2 separate regions of the Homo sapiens genome follow, and region 1 is linked to region 2. Evidence: promoter capture Hi-C in human tissues and cell types (Jung and others, 2019). All regions are on one chromosome and are shown on one strand. Each heading gives the region's core, a stretch centred on a gene start or on the middle of the fragment in contact. The rest is flanking DNA. Distances are from core to core; before and after follow the strand shown. Region 1 overlaps COPG1 (coat protein complex I subunit gamma 1). Region 2 holds the start of RAB7A (RAB7A, member RAS oncogene family).

Region 1 (7,038 bases), core at 1,130-3,629, 550 kb before region 2:
CATATCGATCCCAAGCTTCTCGGGACTCCACTTTCCTCCATATTGGCCGTTCCCTGGCGGGGTTAACCTTCCTCCCCGCCCCCAGCGTGTTTCAGGGCTGGCAGGGAAGGTTCCCGCCGCGCTGAGTCTAGGGCACAGGGTCATGGAAGGCGGGAAACCAGGAAACTCCACTCCTTACTTCACAGTCCTGCCAGCTGCCTCACAGTGCGAGGCAAAAATGGAGGAACACTGAAGAAATGAAAGTCAGAAGAACTTCCAGGAATCGCGCACTTCGCCCTCAAACATTGGTGGGCACTAGAATAAGCCTTTCCTGCCCCAGCCCCTCAGCTGAATCTCTAAGGGTGAGGCCCAGATTTTTAAAACAGCCCTTTCGGGTGTACTTTGGCCTCAAAGTTGGTAAAATAGCCTGGCTTGAGTTTAAAAGCCTGCTCCCCTTGGGACCTAAACCGGAGATTCTTCATCTGCAACCAACAGAGAATGCTCTAGAGGGCTGTTCGCCTATGCTGATTCGCTGAACTGAACAGGGAGCAGAAACCCCAGGGCACACTCCATGTAAGACCAGATGCTGGAACGATCAGACACAGGACCCAAGCCCTTTGGAGCCTCCATTTATCGACTATCAAAGGAGGATGCGTTGTGAAGAAGCACGAACGGGAGGGAGTGTGAACTCTGCCTGTTAGCTGATTCACTCAACCACCCTCTACCGCTCCCACCCCTGGGCTTGGTGCTGGGACAGCGATGACGGGGAGAGGGTCCTGCCTCACAGGACTACAACAGCCAAAGGGCTGTGGGTGCAAGGGGGACAGGGCAGGTGTTCTGCCTCTTTAGGGGAGGCCTTGAAGGGGAAGGTGGAGCCCTGAAGCATGAGTCTGCAGAAGTAGCAATCATTCAATAAATACATGCTGATTTATTACAGGGATAAGATGGTTTCTTGGGGGATAGATTCAAGAGGAGTTGAGAATGTTTTATTCATTTACAATGTCCCTTTCCTGGAAGGGTGGACAGCAAGATTTAGGACAAGCTAAAATCATCCCCTATTTAAAAAAAAAAAAAAAAAAAGTCACCAGCAAGTAGTCCCGGGTGGGAGGTGGGAGCAGAATAAAAAAAAATCTGCAATGATTCCTAATTGTTTTTCAATACAGAAGCTTGGGAAGGGGTTTCTGCCAGTTTCATGAGGAAGGCACAACTTCCAGGTAGTGTTGGGGAAGGGTATGAGGTCCTATGCAGGCTGGCCTCTTATCCCACAGATGCCAAGATGATGTCTACTGGCAGCTCCTCCAAACTTCTGGCTGTCACCTGCATTGTCACTGTGTCCAAAAGCAGCAGCCGGGAGCGCACCAGGATGTCATGACCACCCCGGAACACACCTAGAAGGGAAGAGAGAAGTACAGATATATACAGCAGAAGGGACTGTACAGGGCAGGCTAAGGATGGCATTTGCAGCAACCCATGAAGGCAGCTCTGGTGTAGTGAAACGGGCAGGAGAGCTGGGCTGAAATCCCTGAGTGAGGGATTTCACTGTGAAAGTCACTGTCTCTCAGCCAGGCGCGGTGGCTCACGCTTGTAATTCCAGCACTTTGGGAGGCTGAGGTGGGCAGATCATGAGGTCAGGAATTCGAGACCAGCCTGGCCAACACAGTGAAACCCCATCTCTACTAAAAATACGAAAATTAGCTGGGCATGGTGGTGGACGCCTGTAATCCCAGCTACTCGGGAGGCTGAAGCAGGAGAATCGCTTGAACCCGGGAGGCGGAGGTTGCAGCGAGCAGAGATTGTGCCACTGCATGCCAGCCTGGGTGACAGAGCTAGACTCCGTCTCAAAAAAAAAAAAAAAAAAGAAAGTCACTGTCTCTCAGGACTTCAGTATCCTCAACTACAAAGTGGCAGGGATGATAATACCATATTTCAGGCTTCTGCTAAGTTCAAATGAACTGATGGACATAAAAGGCTTATATCTCATGTCACAGAGGCTCTTGCACGTTGACTGAATCTGAGAGCACAAATGAAGGGGACAGCCCCACCACGAGAAAACCACAGGGCAGGTGTCTGCAAGACCCAGGGGACTAGGTTGTTTCAATGTGGCTACAAACTGTCAGCTGTAGGCAGGGTACTGAAGCAGAGCCTCCTTTCAACCCTGTTTATAAACACTCAGCCAAAAAAAATCATCCCATTTCCTTTTGTTAACTGTTTTAGGTATGATAATTGTATTGTCCTTTAAAAAAGGGAAGGGGTCATTCTCTCTTAGAGAAACATACAGATACAGGATTTACATATAAAATGCTATTTCTGGAGTTTGCTAGTAAATAATCTGGGAAGGAGAATGAGTGTGGGTACACTCAGCCAACCCTGTAGAAAATAAGACAAAGGATATGAAGACAATGATCAGAAAAGGAAATACAAATGCCTCAACATTTAAGAAGATACTTAACTTCATTGAAAATACAAAAACTACACTAAGATATCATTGTCCACACAGACTGGAAAAGATCATAAAGTGTGGTAACATATTATGTTGTCCACAGTGTAGGAAGAAAGGTATACAATTCTATGGAAGGCAACTTGGAGTTATTTATCAAGATGAGAAACACAAATCACTTTGAACTGGTGATGCCTTGGAAAATTTATCCTACAGATATTCTCAGTGTACACATGCAAAGTAAACTGTGTGTGTGTGTGTGTGTGTGTGTGTACACGATTATTTACTGTAACATCTGTAATAGCAAGAGATTGAAATCAAACTAAATGTTCATCAGTAGTGGCTGTTCCATAGAATATGTGGTGCATCCACACAATGGAATACTAAGCAACTATAAAAAAAATGAGGATTCAGTTTGGGATGAAAAAAGTTCTGGAGATGGATGGTGGTCATAGTTTTACAATAGTGTGAATGTACTTAATGCCGCTGAACCATACACTTGAAAATGGTCGAAATGGTGAATTTTATGTATATTTTACCACAATTAAAAGAAAAAGAATGAGGAAGCTCTACATATTGACGGGGAAGATCTCTAAGATGCAATGTAAAGTGAAAAGCAAATCGGAGGACAATATATATACCATTTGTACATAAACATTTGAGTTAAAAAAAGGAAATGCGTTCCTATTAGCTTTTATAGCCATAAAATAACCGCAAGGTTATACAAGTATTGTTTGTAATAGTAACACTGGTCGCTTCTCGGAAGGGAATCTGAATGGCTGGCAGCCAAGGTAGGGAGGAAACATTTCGCTGCAGATTATTTTATACTTTGTGAATTTTAAATGCTGTGAATTTTGACTCCCCATATTTACAGTGGAGTCCTTAGCCCAGGATCCAGTGGCATCCAGGCTGTAAGCTATCCAGGCCCTCCCCATCTAGAAATGCCACTTACCAGCCAGGAGCAACGTGTGGGTGTTCTTGTTATCCGGCACTTTGTCTGACCTCTCACAAGGGTGCATTCCCAAGAACTTCACAATATTACCCACAGCCTCTGTAATGAGAAATCCCAATATTGTTAAGCCATCTTATCTGCCCTTTGTGCCACCACCACTCCCCCATGTTCTGAAGGGCTTTTAATGAAGTGGCATTTGACATATGTGCTCCAGACATGGCCCTGGATCCTTGGAGAGAAAAGGGATGAGCACTTCAATAGTAGCCAAAGATCTTGAACAGTAATTAGGCCAGAGATGGCATTCCCAGGATTTTACCTTCAAGTGTCTTGATGGTAGACAAGGTGAACGTTTCCTCCTTCTCAAATTCATCCCCTACCTCATCCCAGGCTGCTTCGAAGTTCAGTTTCATGACCTTTTGAATGTGATCAGCTACAGTAACTTCCAGATCTTCCAGCTGGAGAGATGGAGGTAGAAATCAGGCACCCATCTACACACCTACGGGCCTCTGCTCTGAACTCATCCACACATCCCTTCCTGCAACTCTTTCCACAGGTGCTTGCTCGGCACTGAGGACTGTGCTAGACTCTGGGGACATAGAGCAACTTGACCAGGTACCTATCCTTGAGGTGCCCAAAGGCAAATGGTATCCCTTCAACAGAAAACGCCCTAATCCCAAGTACCAATCTACTAATTCAGCCTAGAGCCGCCTGCTGTGAGATCACATCTCTTCTAAGCCTGCCTAGTGTCAGTGCTTCCAGGACCTGGCATGCAGGGAATTACATAGCATTCTCAGAGGTCTGCTTCCTATGCCTGTCCCTCCTAGGGGATGATGAGCTCTTCAGGACCAGCAGCTGTTTCTAGTTCAGCAGAAACTAGCAGAAACCTCCTACCCCAGCTGTGTCCTCTGGATTTGACAGATCCTGAATCTCTATCTCCATTTCAGCTGTGTCTTCCCTGAACTTGACACATAATACTCCCACTGAGTCTACATGAAGGTTCCCCATTCATTCTCCCATCAGATTTTCACTGAGGCCCTACTCCTGTGGATGTTTACAGTGTATATAAATACAACTTAGACCCAGCTCTCTCTCTCTTTTTTTTTTTTCTTCATCTCTGGATGGGCTCAAACAGACCCAGCTCTCTCAAGGAGCTCACTTGGTCTTAGAGCAGCTCCTGCCTCGGGGTCATTTCCAGCTCAAGGAAGGTCCATCCATCCTCAACTGTGACTCTAGGATGACACAATGGCGAATGTCAGTTGTATTCCACTGTGACTGTCCCTCTAGTCAGGAGGAGTTCTAACAGTCCCCATCCACAGGCTGAGCATAATGGTCTGCACTCAGATGGCCCTGAGCCACTGCCCCAAAGTCAGACCTCAGAAGGATCCTGTACTTAGTTCCACCGAGCTAAGATAGGAGAATTTAGAAGGGCTATTCCAGTGCATGAAAGGACTGCCCAGCACAGCAAACAGGTCAAATTTATCCAGAAAGCATTTGACAAGAGGAATCAAAATGTCTTAAAATCATGCTTACCCTTTGACCCAACTATTCTCCTTCTAGGAATCTATCCTAAAGAAATAATCTAAAATGCAGATAAAAATTTGTATCTAAAGGGATATTTAATGCAGCAATATAAATAGTGAAAATATGGAAACCCAAATGCCCAACATTAAAGGAGTGAAAAGTCAATCAAGTTTTGACATAGTATATAACAGTATTTTAAATCCACTAAAAAAATTGTGTTTATGAAGTATTTGTAATGATACTGGAAAATACACTATGGTTTTAAAATAGCAAGGTCTACACTGTAAGAATGATTTCAATTATACCACTTCCCCCCAAAAATAACTCTAAGGATTATGAGTAATGTTTTCCTGTTGTTCATACTTTGTTTTGAATTTTGTTTTTGTATTTCCCAAGTTTTCTTTTTACACATGAACATGTATTTCCATAAGTTTAAAAAGTTATTTTAGGCCGGGCGCGGTGGCTCACGCCTGTAATCCCAACACTTTGGGAGGCCAAGGTAGGTGGATCACCTGAGGTGAGGAGATCGCGACCAGCCTAGCCAACATGGTGAAACCCTATCTCTACCAAAAATACAAAAAATTTGGCAGGCATGGTGGTGGGCGCCTGTAATCCCAGCTACTTGGGAGGCTGAGGCAAGAGAATCGCTTGGACCAGGGAGACAGAGGTTGCAGTGAGCCGAGATCGCGCCACTGCACTCCAGCCTGGGTAACAAAAGAGAAACTTCATCTCAAAAAATAAAAATAAAAAAATAAAATTTTAAAGAGCTAAAAAGCCAAAAACAGCTCCAGTCTCACTGTCAGTTCCTGAAGGGAGTTGCTTTGCAGCCTCAGCACAAAACTGAGCTTCCTGACACCAGGATCTTACCACATACTCATCCTCATAGCCTTCGTCATCAGTCTCCCCAGTGGTGGGATCACAGTCCTTGACAGTGAACTTCATCATGCAGCTGAATGTGCAGGCCACTGTGGGGAAGAGAGGCTGGGTAGTTAGGATGTCCCCAGCCTGCAGGGGATGGGCTCCTCCTGCAGGGGACAAGCAGGCAGGGGTCACAGCCTGCTTTCTAGGCCCCTGCTATGTTATTAGTAGCAGCAACAAGCCATCCAATCCCACAAAGCTGGACAGAGGGTGCCACCTTGTAGGACAGGAAAGTCATGAGTTCTAGTGAGATCCTGTCTCTTTAAAAAAAAAAATTTTTAAAGAAGAGCACTTGGGACTCAGCTATTCTTCTTCTTGGGACTGAAATCAAGGAGCTGAAGCTCTAATAGAAGGCAAACAGCTGGTGCCCAGCCGCCCACCTCCTCCTGACCCCATGAGCTCCCAGGAGGATAGGGTGGTATCTGGAGAGGGGCTCACCAGCTGTGGGGTCTTCTTTGGGCAGTGCCACCAGTGTGTAGCAGGTCCCGGGCTGGTTGTAGGGCAGGCTCCGGGCAGGCACGTAACAGAGCACCTCATAGGCCTCAGTGGGCTCCATCTGCACTGTGACATTCTCCAAGGTCTGGTCATTGAGTGTGTTTGTGCAGTCAAACTGAACAGGAAAGAGAGGGGAGCTTAAACATTGCACTAGGTCCGAGCCATGCTGCAGAGGAAAAGCCAGGAGGTCCCACCTCTTTCCTATTGACCAAGGTGATTCCCATCCCAGTCCCCCTGCCCCAGGTTCCCTGTCTTCATGCTGACAATCGGGAGCCATGGATGTCCCGAGTCAAGAGATATGAGAGACCGACCTGTTGGGGACAGATTCTGTCATCAAGTTGGGCTCCCAACCAATGCAGTGTGGGGACCCATGACCCTACAGGACCTGCCAGACCTGGGACAACTCCCTGGGCGCATGCCCCAGCAGGGCCTCAGCCCACCTTGCTCACCTGAAAAACCATGTGGTTGGTGAAGGTGTGTTTGGTGCAGCGGATGACATACTCCGTCTCTGACTCGGTGAGGGCCACGGGCTCAGGCGAGGACTTGAAGAGGGGCCCAAGACCGCGGAACTCTGGCACTGCTGCCAACTGCTCTGAAATCCACAGGCCACATTCACTCAGCTTCTCGATCCCCAGACCAACTTGTTGATGGTTTCTAATAAATTCCCATGACCATTCTCAAGGTGTTCCACCCTACCTTAGATGGATAGATATGTTTACCCAACTGGCTACTCATT
Region 2 (6,673 bases), core at 3,959-6,458:
TAAATGACCCGCAGTTATCTCAGGGATCCTCATATCTGTAAGTGAACAGAAGAACTGTTGGTAGGCTGACTGAATACCACATATAAGGGACACTATTTTTCATAAAGTCTATGCTTGGTTATTTAAGGTTAATTCATAGCAGCTTTGTAATTATGCACTCTCAAATAACTCAAACTACAAAGCTTATTCAATGGAAACCAACTTTTTATTACACTTACATACCAATATTGGAAATCAATGATGTAACTATTTACTTCACTAAGTAACTTTTAAAGGACTCCTGATCTGAGATGGTTAATGCCCAGCAGTATGAAGCAAAGCTGGAAAGGAAAGGCTGAGGGAGAAGAGAGAACTTCCTTTCCTTTATCTGGCAGCAGCCACACAAGAAGGACCAACTAAGAGACAAGCAAGGCTGGAGAATTCCTAAACTGCCCTTGTCCCAGGCTCCCCTTAAATAGGCTCCCTTGGATTTGCTTGGTCCCAACTGTAGACAGTCCCAGGACACCAGAAGTGGACAACAGAATCAGGCAAACTTAAATTTCTCAGCAGTGATGCCATCACCAAAACAGAGACTCCAGGCCCCATGAGTTAAGTACTGCATCTTCAAGCAAATGAACAAGGCCAATGCTGTAGGTCAGCATTGGAACCAACTCCCAAGCTTTCTTCCTCCCACAAGGAGATATTTTGCAAGTAGCTATTCTTAAATATGTTTTTGTAATCACAGCCTGGGATACTAAAATTGAAACTGGTAACAGACACTGCTAAAAAACTTGTTTTGATTTCACTCGCCACATCACTTTTACCTCTGATTCACAAATCGCAGTGACCACCACCATTAAGAAATGTTTTAAAAATAAGTTTTAGGCTGGGCATGGTGGCTCACGCCTGTAATTCCAGCACTTTGGGAGGCCGAGGCGGGTGGATCACGAGGTCAGGAGATCAAGACCAATCTGGCTAACACGGTGAAACCCCGTCTCTACTAAAAATACAAAAATTAGCCGGGCGTGGTGGTGGGTGCCTGTAGTCCCAGCTACTCGGGAGGCTGAGGCAGGAGAATGGCATGAATCTGGAAGGTGGAGCTTGCAGTGAGCTGAGATGGCACCACTGCACTCCAGCCTGGGCTACAAAGCAAGATTCCGTCTAAAAAAAAAAAAAAAGTTTTAAAACACAAACTATTTTTCTGTCTTTAATGCCATATGGAGTGTGGGGAAAAACAGAATAGAAGATTTAAGAGCAAATAACTGAAAAGATCAGCATATTGCAAAAATGTTTCTGCAGCAAACTGCAGACAGAGAAGCATAGAGAACTATTAGATAATATTAACAGATAAGCATGTGGTAACACAAAGGAATGGATGCCTGAGAATACAATGGTAGCCTTCCTTACATGAGAGGTAAGAATCATCAACAGCAAGCCAATAGCCAAAAAATAAGGGGGGAGGCGGGGAGTTCATTTCTCGAGTTTCAGTCGCCTTCAGAAGAAGACATTTAATGCCAAGGGGAACCTCTGTTTAGCCTTATTCAGGAGGACTTCTAATCCTTACCTCCCCAGGAAAAGCCTGCCTACAGCTCCAAGTCCAACATCTGGTCAAATCTATCTCAGCTGTATTTGTTGAATTAAATGAATGGGGAGATAAATACTTTATCATAGGAAAAACTAAAATATTTGTGTCAAATGCCAGAGAGGAATGTGCATAAGACAACTGTCATATTTGCGTGGTCTGTGTTTGCTACATCTTTGTTTACAAAGTCTAATGCCAAAGTAAGAGCAAAAACGTTATTAGTGAAGATCCCTTTGAAGACTTTTTTTTTTTTTTTTTTTGAGAAGAAGTCTCGCTCTGTCGCCCAGGCTGGAGTGCAGCGGCATGATCTCTGCTCACTGCAAGCCCTGCCTCCTGGGTTCACGCCATTCTCCTGCCTCAGCCTCACGAGTAGCTGGGACTACAGGCGCCCGCCACCACGCCCGGCTAATTTTTTGTATTTTTAGTAGAGATGGGGTTTCACTGTGTTAGCCAGGATGGTCTCGATCTCCTGACCTCATGATCCACCTGCCTCGGCCTCCCAAAGTGCTGGGATTACAGGCGTGAGCCACCGTGCCCAGCTGAAGACATATTAAAAGCTAATCAAATAACCAAAATTTTTTGGCTTCACTTGGCAGTGGGGTCAGAAAACTGATTCAAAGCCACACTTTACTATAAAGAGTTGTTCTCTGATTACAGGGTTGGTGAGCTTAGACACAGTTGGCACTAAAAAAAAATTTTAAAAAAAATTGCCCCAAGTGGTTGCTAACTACCTAGAAGGATATACTAATAAAACTATTTTTAGACTATCTTCTACATTCCACCCTCTGTTTACTTATGCAGTTCTACCACAAATGTAAAATCCAAATCTTCCCTTAAAGAAGGGAATCTAGAAAGTTGTGGGAGATAGGGTAACACAGCTTTTCTATGTAGAATGGTACTGAAACTATGGCCAGTACACTATCAGTGCTACATTAAACTTTCTTGCCAGCTGAAGAAAAAAATCCAGCATGCCAAATGTACCTTTGCTCAAAGACATGGCAGTGCAAGGTAATTACAGTAGTGACATGGACTACCTCTTGAGTGAACAAAAAAATGCTACCAGAGTCGGCCGGGCGCAGTGGCTCATGCCTGTAATCCCAGCACTTTTCGGAGGCCGAGACAGGCGGATCACCTGAGGTAGGCAGTTCGAGACCAGCCTGACCAACATGGAGAAAACCTGTCTCTACTAAAAATACAAGATTAGCTGGGCATGGTGGCGCATGCCTGTAATTCCAGCCACTCGGGAGGCTGAGGCAGGAGAATGGCTTGAACCCGGGAGGCAGAGGTTGCAGTGAGCCGACATCGCGCTATTGCACTCTAGCCTGGGCAACAAGAGGGAAACTCCGTCTCAAAATATAAATAAAATAAAATAAATGCCACTAGAGCAAAAGGAGAAACAAGTTGAGTGTTGAAGGTTACTCTTTAAAAGATGTGATTAATTAGAAACTGTAATATTATCTTCTACACTCTCTGAAGAGCAAACCATACAAATGCTGTTGTTAAAATTAACAAAGCCTTAAAGTTAGCCAGAAGAACACCATCCTTTGGGTTACTACTGATTCACCAGCAGAGATGAGAAATAACTCTTTCCAAAAAGCCTCAAGTTCTACCGCCAAATTATTCCACAACAGAATTTCTGGCCAAGATCATTCACCTTTTAAAAATTCCTTGAGGACAGGAACCACGCCTATCTCCCTGAGTCAATGTCCCACAATGCCTGATACATTGCTGATACTCAATGGATACTCAAAATACTTAATGAATGAATAAAAAGGTGCCTATCATTACTCTAAACTCAAACATTATATAAAGCCACAGTACTTATTACTCACTTAAATATTTTAGGCTAGGTAGCAAAGTTAAAAAAAAAAAAGACAAATATGAATACAACAGGATTGTGAACGCTAAGCTTTAACTTAGCCGGTCCCTTCTTCAGAAGAAGTACTCCTAACTCACCTTCCAGTCCTTAAACTCAAATCTGAACAAACCTTCCCAAGTTTGAAGAGAGAAACACACTAAGAGGAGACTTTATTCATCCATGGATGAGAAATCATGTGCTTCATCAGCTGCTTAAGTCACAAGAAAGAGACAAGAGTCCGTTCTTTAGGAAACCAAAGATGCAGTATTTTGAATAGGGAAGAACCAGCCGGCTGGACAGCCATCAACTAAGGTTGTAAGAAAGGTTCACTAGGCAGGTTTGCCAGGCCTACCTGCAAAATTTTTCAAACCTCAGTTAAGTACCCTGCCGGTATTCAAGAGCTCCTAATTCGGTGACACTACACCACAATATGTGTGATAAGTCGCAAACGGCATTTCTTATGGCTTTAAGGGAGAACTGATGCTACCAGAAAGACTTTCAAATGACATCAATAGAAAGAAAGGAGGTGGTGGGAGGCACTGAGGTACAGATACCAGGTAGCAAAAGATAAACCAGCAAGCTTCAGGGGTACGTGAAAGCAGTACAACCTAGAAATTTAATACAGTGCTCTGGAGTCTGACTGCCTGGGCTTGCATCTCTGCTTCGTAACTTATTAGCTGTGTGACCTTGGCCAAATGGCTTAGCCTCTCTGTTCAACTTCCCACTGTGTTAAGTGGGCACAACAGTGGTACTTCAGAGGGTTGTTCAAAGAACTAAACATAATGATCTGTTAAAAGGTCTTGCCACGCTGCCTAGCATACAATAAACGCTCAAATATTTGCTGTCAATATTCTCAATATTCCCCTTATGACCCCATTAGGTATCAAGCCTAAAATGAATGCAGAAAGAGGCCCCAAACACGGTCGGAATGGAAACACAACTCTACATCCAACTACCATCTTTCCTCGATTAAGTTGAAAAACTTCTCTCAGGATTTACCGTAACATGCCTAGGACAAAAAGCTCCCTGTCTCCCAGCGCCAGAGGCGCCTCAATGTACACAAGTGTCGAGGCGAGCCCAGCGCACGTGACCTGACTCACTGCCTTGACTCAGTTGCCGTCAGGGAACTCCCACTAACAGGGTCAGGCTGTTCAACTGAAGAACCGGATGGGAACGCGGCTCGGCCCCCAGCGCCTGTGACCCATGCCCGCCGGGTGGGCACGGCGGCGGGCGGCGTGGGCTCTGACACCCTCCTGCTCGCCGCGCTAAGGAACTCCACTGGCCAGCGCGTCCTGCCGCGGCGCAGGGCCGCCCAAGTCAAGGAACCCTCTCGGGTCTCTGAGATCCAGGCCAACAGTAAACAGAGCGTCCGAGACGGGTGGCCGGGGCGGGCAACCCGGCCAGAGGTCACGCCCGACGACCTCCGACCTCTCCAAGCCGGGTGGGGTCTTGGCCTGCTCCGGGGGCCTGAGCGATGCCGGGTGTGCCCGCGTGGCCAGGGCTGGGACTGGAGCCTGCCCAGGAGGACAGGGAGGACGCGAGGCCCTGGCGACCGAGGGGCTGAGGGGGGGGATGGGGCCAGGCCGCCGGCCGGGCTGGGCCCGCTGCTTACCGCGGCCGCTGCGCTGGGGGCTCCGGGCCGGGCGCGTCGCGAGGGCTCCCGCCGAGGAGGAGACTAAACGGAGGACAGAAGCGAGAAGGTCCAAGTTCTGGTTCCAGGGAACTCTCCCGAGCTCTCCAAGCCGCCAACTCCGCCGCTGCCGCCGCCTCAGGCTTTATGGCCAAGACTCCAGGCCCGCTCCCACTTCCGCCACCGCCGCCGCCCCGAGCGGAAGTACCTGTCACGAGACGCTCGACGCCAGGGTGCGGGGGAGGAGCCCCGCCTCAACCTTGCGTCACGTTCCGGCTGCCTCGGGACTGAGCCTGGATCTCGTGCTACAAACATGTCTGCCCCCAAATGGTTGTCCCCATCTTTGAGGCTCATACAAGGAGCAGGACGGCGCCATGTTGGACCCACAGACAGATTCCCTCAGCCATCCCTCCTTACTCCAGAATAAATAATGCCACCGAAGAGGGGACAAGGGGTAAACTGGCCATTCCAGTTGTGTCCTTCTTCGAAAGGCATCATTTATCCTTACTTTAATTACTTAACCAAAAATTATTATCACCATTTTACAAATAAGGAACTGAGACTCAGTATATCATGTCACTTGGTCTAGCTCAACACAGAAACTGGTGGAGCGAGGTTTTGAACCAAGATCTGTCTGATGCCAATATGTGTTATCGTTCTAGTAGACTGCAAATGACTACAGCAATTGTGTGGCTCGGTGATAGAGACAGGAGAAATAGGCACTTTGTCTGGCAGAGGAGACAGCCCAAGAAAATGGAAAATGAGCTAAAGCCTCTCTGAACTTAGTATTAGAGAAGATGTGATAAAGATGGACCGGGTAGAACTCTTCTTGTAAGCACAGAGCAGCCTCCCAAGCACCAGCCCCATCCGAACACATCAGGATCCACTCAGAATTTTTGCCTCCATCTTCAACAATGCCCTCTCATAGTCTTTTCTTATTTTGGTTCATGCAAGCTCCATTCTTTCAATTGTTCCATCCAAAAACCTTGCAATTGTTACAGTAAGTAGTCAGACCTGAGCAGGGCAGGAGAGGGGCCACTCCCCGACCAGCAATGTGAGGCAACCATGACGTGGTTGTCAGGTTAAGCTGTCTCTCTAAAATAATAATTGGTTGCAGCCAGACCAGAGAAAGGCAGTCTCCCAATAGATAAAAACACCTAAAACTGGTGATCAGCAGCTTCCCGATAAGATCTCAGGAGTTGAGGGGTCTGGGGAAAAAAAAAATCTCAAAAGCTAGGCAAGCAGTCTCAACCCTGAGATGGTACAATGTCTGGGGTTTCCCCTACTTTTTCAACCAAAATTGGCTCTTTCCCCAAAACCCTCACCACCTATTCTCCTGTTTTCTCTATGTGTATTCTGAAATGGCCTTGCACACTGCAGAACCATCCGCCTCTGGGGTAAGTCCACTCTTTCTCTGCTTTCACTTTGCATGTGCCCAGGAGTTCAAGACCAGCTTGGGCAACATAACAAGACTGTCTCTTCCAAAAGATAAACAAAAAAGAAAAGAGAAGGCACACATCTACATCAGACCTCTGCAGTTGTACTTCTCTCTACCTGGAAAGCTCTTCCTCCAGGTATCTGCTTGGCCACTCCCTCACTTTCCTCTGGTCTTGACTTTAAAGTA

What was found. The method cuts DNA at HindIII sites, captures the fragments that hold promoters and counts their contacts. A contact is called where the count stands out against the background at its distance.
Region 1: a fragment that was not itself captured here is called in contact with the fragment with the promoter of RAB7A in region 2 in 1 of the 25 tissues and cell types used here (pancreas).

Annotation. Positions count from the first base shown.
Region 1 is chr3:129,271,623-129,278,660 of GRCh38, reverse strand. It overlaps COPG1 (coat protein complex I subunit gamma 1), which reads right to left. Exons shown (of 24, transcript NM_016128.4): 19 at 6,752-6,894; 20 at 6,246-6,417; 21 at 5,757-5,854; 22 at 3,685-3,823; 23 at 3,369-3,467; 24 at 888-1,367. The coding sequence ends at 1,237. It overlaps MIR6826 (microRNA 6826), which reads right to left and starts at 6,515; the gene lies at 6,418-6,515. The HindIII fragment of the contact is 3,597 bases long and covers 581-4,177 here.
Region 2 is chr3:128,724,718-128,731,390 of GRCh38, reverse strand. It overlaps RAB7A (RAB7A, member RAS oncogene family), which reads right to left and starts at 5,208. Exons shown (of 6, transcript NM_004637.6): 1 at 5,032-5,208. RefSeq lists enhancers at 1-43, 4,341-5,325, 5,355-5,484 and a silencer at 4,785-5,074. The HindIII fragment of the contact is 11,719 bases long and covers 3,736-6,673 here.